Linked DNA regions of Homo sapiens: region 2 is linked to region 1. Evidence: promoter capture Hi-C in 16 types of primary human blood cells and fetal thymus (Javierre and others, 2016). All regions are on one chromosome and are shown on one strand. The core of a region is centred on a gene start or on the middle of the fragment in contact, and the rest is flanking DNA. Distances in the headings are between cores, read along the strand shown. Region 1 holds the start of CSPG5 (chondroitin sulfate proteoglycan 5). Region 2 holds the start of SMARCC1 (SWI/SNF related BAF chromatin remodeling complex subunit C1).

Region 1 (2,900 bases), core at 207-2,706:
GTGGTTGCCATTCGTTCATTTATGCCTGTCTGATATGGAGCCTCCCTCTGTTACCAGCCCTGTGCACTCAAGTGCCTTGCAGTCCAGTGAGGAATAACTGTAGATAAGATGAGATGATGGGCATTAAGTGTAACTGCTGAGAAGCCTTCATAGAGGGAAAGGTGATAAGAACTGAGTTTTTCTGGCATGAGGAGTTTACCAGGCAGGAGAGGTGGAGACGCTAGGCTAGGCAAATAGGCTGCAGCCATAGTTCTGCTGAGAAACAGGTTTTGAACCAAGGCAACTCCATCTGGAGATATGTATCAGAAAGATTAGGAGATAGAATCTCCATCTTGGTCACTTATTTGGTCTTCTAAGACAGCAATGGGACCGTCTCTTAAATACTGGAGTTGTCCTATCTCCTTGGGCTGATACCCTGAACTGTCATTTGGGTGAGTAACACATTAAGGGGTAGACGGTCGGTTTGGGGGAATAAACTAAGTAACTAGGTTGCGGTTCCTCCTGCCGACTAAGCAGACCTCCTGGTGCGTGGTCTTGGGTTGCCCTGTGAGCCCTGAAGCTGTGAATGGGCCCCACAGATCACTCTAAAGCCAAGCATCCATGTGTGCCCGGCTGGGGATCTAGACCCCCCTGGTCTACCCAGGAACCTGAGTTTTGGTGGTCTGAGACACCTGGGGGACGACGTATCCCGGAGAAGGGACCAGGATTAAAGGCCGCTCCCCAGGCTGCCCGGAGACTAGAAGGAAGGCGAGGTAGCCGCAGTCCCAGGGAGGGTCTTACCCCTTGCTCCCGGGATGCGTTATGGCGGGCCTGGCTGTGCGAGATCTAGGCTAGTGGCTTTGGCTGCGAACGGATTAGATCTGATCCGATTAGAGCCTGGGCGGTCGGCTTCGCCCCCTTGCCAGGCTCTGCCAACGCCCGCCCCTCCCTCGTGGAGACCCGGAGACCTCCCTGAGAGCCTTCCCGCCCGGAACACGGGATTGGTGCAGAATCCGAGAGGCTCCATGCGCCCCGGGCCTGGCTTGTTTCCACAGTGGGGGCTCGTGCTTCCGCCCCCTGCGGCTCTTCTGGACCCCGCCCCGACCCTGCGGGTAACTGGGCCCGCGACGTCCCCGCCTCCGTGCTTGCCGCGTGGCGGGTGGGTTCCTCCGGGTCGGGGCCCCGTGCCGCCTGTTCACCTGGGGCGGGACCGTGGCCCCATCCCACAGGTCTCCCGCCCGTGCACCTGCCGCCTAACGCCGCGCGCCGCGCCGTGCGCCTGCCTCGCGCTCCCCGTCCGCCTGCCCCGCACTCCCCGTCCGTGTGTCTCCTAGTCCCCAGCGAGGGGTCTGTCTGTTCCCCTGGCAGGCTGACCAAGGGGCCGGCGTCACCGCTACGTGCGGCGGGGCCGGCGCGGCGGGCGGGGTGAGGGCGGCGCTGAGCGCAGCGGCGGCAGCGGCGGCGCGGGAGGCGGGGAGGCGCGGCGCGCCGGGGACAGCGGCGGACGGCGGCGGCGGCGGCATGCGGCTCCTCGCGCTGCCCATCGTGGGCTGAGGCGGCCGCAGAACCGGCGGGAGGCGCGGCGGCCGGGCGAGCCGAGGGCGCAGCCAGCCGGGCGGACCGCGGACAGCGGTCGGGGCGCCGCGCCATGGGGCGAGCCGGGGGCGGGGGCCCGGGCCGGGGGCCGCCGCCACTGCTGCTGTTTCTGGGGGCCGCGCTGGTCCTGGCCTCTGGGGCCGTGCCGGGTAGGTATGACTGCGCCCGGGACCCCCGCGGCCCTCGTGCCCCACCCAGGGCAGGGGTCCCGCTGGCGGCGGGGACAGGTGGAGCTGTGAGCTGTGGCAAGGGGGCGGGGCACCGCCTGGCCGCGGCCGGGCGGCGGAATGGTCCCAGGAGGTGGTGGGGGTCCGGGAAAGGCCGACCCGCGTGGGGGCCGACCCCGGTTGGGGTAGCCGGGACCCAAGCGCGCGGGCCGCGGTGCGGACTGGGGGCGGGGCCGGGGGCGGGGCCGGGGCGGGGCCGGGGCGGGGCCTGAGGGTGAGACTTCGGGGCGGGACCTGGAGCTGAGGGCGGGAGCCAGTGGACGCGGCTCAGGGTGGGTTCCCGAGGGTGAGACTTATGGGTGGGCCGAGCTGGGGGCCGCCCTGGCCTGGCTCTTCAGACGGCGGGGCAGGTCGGGCGGGGCCGAGCCGCGAGGCGTTGGGCGGGGTGTGATCCTCGTCTTGGGGGCAGACTCCGGGACGGGGCTTAGAGGTACCGGGTGGCTGGGGTCACACTGGGGCGGTGGGGTCTGAGGGTGGCGAGGTCTGGGTTGACCAGGTCTAGGCGAGCGGGCCTGACCGGGGCGGGCCGGGGCTCCAGGGCTCCTCAGCGCGCCGCCCTGACGTCCCGCCCCTTGCCCTCCCGCCCGCAGCGCGTGAGGCGGGCAGCGCGGTTGAGGCCGAAGAGCTGGTGAAGGGCAGCCCGGCGTGGGAGCCGCCTGCCAACGACACGCGGGAAGAAGCCGGCCCACCAGCGGCTGGGGAAGATGAGGCGTCGTGGACGGCGCCCGGTGGCGAGCTGGCCGGGCCAGAAGAGGTGCTGCAGGAGTCGGCTGCGGTGACCGGCACCGCCTGGCTGGAAGCTGACAGCCCAGGCCTGGGAGGAGTGACCGCAGAGGCGGGCAGCGGCGATGCCCAGGCCCTTCCAGCTACGCTCCAGGCTCCCCACGAGGTCCTCGGGCAGTCAATCATGCCCCCTGCCATTCCTGAGGCTACAGAGGCCAGCGGGCCACCCTCCCCCACCCCCGGCGACAAGCTGAGCCCAGCTTCTGAACTCCCCAAGGAGAGCCCCTTGGAGGTTTGGCTGAACCTGGGGGGCAGCACACCCGACCCTCAAGGGCCAGAGCTGACTTACCCATTTCAGGGCACCCTGGAGCCCCA
Region 2 (2,900 bases), core at 220-2,719, 200 kb before region 1:
CAGGGTGGTCTGGAACTCCTGACCTCGTGATCAGTCTGCCTTGGCCTCCCAAAGTGTTGGGATTACAGGCGTGAGCTATCTCGCCTGGCCCTCTTGATCACATTCTATTAACTTTTTTATTTAATATATTTTACTGTCCGTGACACAGCCCTCAGGAGATCCTGAAAACATGTACACACCCTCATTTTTAAAAGATCTCAGAAACTTACCAGCAGTTAGTCACGTTCTCACAAGCAATTAGTTACTTGCTTCTCTGCGATCATATAGCATTATGTTCACAACTCCATTATGGCCAGTCATACTTTTTATGTTTCTGAAACAGGGTTTCGCTCTGTCGCCCAAGCTGAAGTGTAGTGAGTGGCGCGATTATAGCTCACTGCAGCCTCCATCTCCCCAGCTCAAGGGATCCTCCCACCTCAGCCCTCCAAGAGGCTAGGACCACAGGCTTGCAACACAACGCTGGCTGATTTTTGTATTTTTTGTAGAGACGGGGATGGGTGTGGTGGTCTAGAGCTCCTGGGCTCAATTGATCCTCCCGCCTCAGCCTCCCAAAGTGCTCCGCACCCGGCCAATATACCTTGTTAATAATTTAAAAATTTTCGGCTTCTATGTGGGCCATTCATTAACTCATCAAGTATTTACTGTACATCTGTTCCTTGTCTCAGGTGTTCAGGATACACCTGTGAACAAGTTAAGATTAGGTTCTCATGTAATTTATGTGGAAGGTAAATGAGAAACTAGAAACGCCGGGTCGTGGTGAGCGCTATGCAGAAAGTGTATGGGTGTGAACAGTTGTTCAAGATTGTTAAGATCTGACAACTACTTTCTGAAGTCCTTTGAAGCAGTGAATCTGAACGCGTCTCGTAAGTGCAAATCAGAAGGGAAGACCTGCTGAGGTCTCGAAAGAGCCAGTGCAAGGGCCCCTGGGGCAGGAATGAGCCGCTGTGGCTGGACCCCTGAGGGAGTGGAAGGTCTGTGAAGCCGAAAAGCCTAGGCGTGGGAGTCCCAGATGGCTGTTCACAAATGCCGCCGGGCCGCTGGGGGTGGAGGGCCTGAGGGAAAGCGGGGCCCGGCGCAGTCCCAGTCCGGGTGCAGGGCCCTCGGCCAGCACTCGATACCCTAGACAGGCTTTCCCTTGGGCATTTCTCGCACCAGGCCTTTTCCCTCCAGCGGAGGCGGGCTATGACACATAACCCACCTGCGGTTGTTGACCGCATAATGATTCGACGTCGGTAGCGAGGGAAGAGCAAGGCTCAAAAACCGGCGCTCACTAGGGCAGAATGCAGCCTACGGAGGATGGCGGAAGAGGCGGCTGAGGCCGCAGGACGTGCTATTCCAAGGCACGGCCGCACGAGTGCTACGCATGCGCGTGCGCTGGCTCGCGTCAGATACAGTGCCAGTTCCCAGATGGGGCGGGGCCGGGCGTCCGCGCCGGAAGAGGGTTGGCTGGGCGGGGCCGGGAAGCGGCAGTGGCGGCTACGCGCGCGGGGGTGCGCGCGGGAACGACCGGGAAACACCGCGAGGGCCGGGGTGGGCCAGGCTGTGGGGACGACGGGCTGCGACGATGGCCGCAGCGGCGGGCGGCGGCGGGCCGGGGACAGCGGTAGGCGCCACGGGCTCGGGGATTGCGGCGGCAGCCGCAGGCCTAGCTGTTTATCGACGGAAGGATGGGGGCCCGGCCACCAAGTTTTGGGAGAGCCCGGAGACGGTGTCCCAGCTGGATTCGGTGCGGGTCTGGCTGGGCAAGCACTACAAGAAGGTGGGTTCGCGCGCCCGTGGGGGCCGGGAGACCACGCGACCGGGGCCGGAGGCGGCAGCTGGCCTCGCGGGCCTCGGGCCGCCCCTCCCCCCCGCACGCCACGAGGGACAACAAAGGCAGGCGCCGGGCCCGCCACGCCCCCGCCGCCCGCTCTGGGCGCCCGCGATCCCGGGGCCTGACTGGGGTTCGGGGCTCTCTCCTCTGAGCCTACGCACCCATGGTGAAAGCCCCTGCTCAGTCTCGTGTGCCAGAGCAGGTCGAGCTCAGCCACTAAGCGAGTGTGACTCTCTCTCTTTTGTCAGCTGCCTTAGGTGTGTGAACAATGATCCCTAAAGACCGAGCAAGCGTGGTAAAAGCAGCTTCAAGTTTTGTTTAGAGCGTATTCAAAGTCTCGAGGGGGTTTGCTACCTGTTGTTGAATTGCTAAACGACTGGGATGATTGTATTCGTTAATTAATAACAGGCAATATGAATTCTAGGATGGATGAGAACTATTAACGACGGTTCTACCTCATCGTGCTTCTGGTTCTGTGTGGCGTGAGAGTTGATGGTCGCTTGTACGTAAAGTGTTCTAAAGGGAGGCCTTCCCCAAGAACCCAGTTTTTATTAGAGCACTTTTCTTGTGTCACCTTTATTTTCTTCGTAGTGTTTACCACATTTTGAAATTATTCATTTACTGATTTCTCCTACCTTTGGAACGGAAGTTCCGCCGAGTCAGTAGTTTTCAAAGTTTTGACTTAATCCTTTGTTTATAACAAATGTTTTTTTTTTTTCCAACTTCCCTTTTGTGTAAATATTCAGGAGGACTCCCTTAAAGGGTGTAATGAAGCAGGTAGCCGAAAAGGCTCCCCAGCCTCTGAAGTTTTCCTATCACCCTCTTTAGTTCTGTACTTTCTCCTATTGAGAATCATAGCACTGAAGCAAGGGCTTTGTTCACTGCAGTGTATCCGGGAACGTGGCTGATACTTATTGCCTTACCCTTAGTGGCTGCTTAGTAAATATTTGTTGAATGAATGAAAACATAAACTAGTTTAGGAACCTATTTTTTTGGCCTCAGCAGCTCAGTGAAGCCTGTCAGTGTTTGGCAGTTATTAGGCATGGGCAGGGATCTTGGGTTCCTTTGGCATTACACGTGGTACATT

What was found. The method cuts DNA at HindIII sites, captures the fragments that hold promoters and counts their contacts. A CHiCAGO score of 5 or more calls a contact.
Region 2: the fragment with the promoter of SMARCC1 here is called in contact with the fragment with the promoter of CSPG5 in region 1 in 1 of 17 cell types (endothelial precursors); the score reaches 5.6 in endothelial precursors.

The regions. Positions count from the first base shown.
Region 1 is chr3:47,577,421-47,580,320 of GRCh38, reverse strand. It overlaps CSPG5 (chondroitin sulfate proteoglycan 5), which reads left to right and starts at 1,456. Exons shown (of 5, transcript NM_006574.4): 1 at 1,456-1,724; 2 at 2,393-2,900. The coding sequence starts at 1,628. RefSeq lists an enhancer at 127-831 and silencers at 1,956-2,005, 2,046-2,105, 2,156-2,245. The HindIII fragment of the contact is 13,333 bases long and covers 1-2,900 here.
Region 2 is chr3:47,780,462-47,783,361 of GRCh38, reverse strand. SMARCC1 (SWI/SNF related BAF chromatin remodeling complex subunit C1) reads left to right here and starts at 1,469. Exons shown (of 28, transcript NM_003074.4): 1 at 1,469-1,759. The coding sequence starts at 1,565. RefSeq lists silencers at 726-785, 896-945, 1,356-1,575, 1,756-1,995 and an enhancer at 1,229-1,523. The HindIII fragment of the contact is 14,461 bases long and covers 1-2,900 here.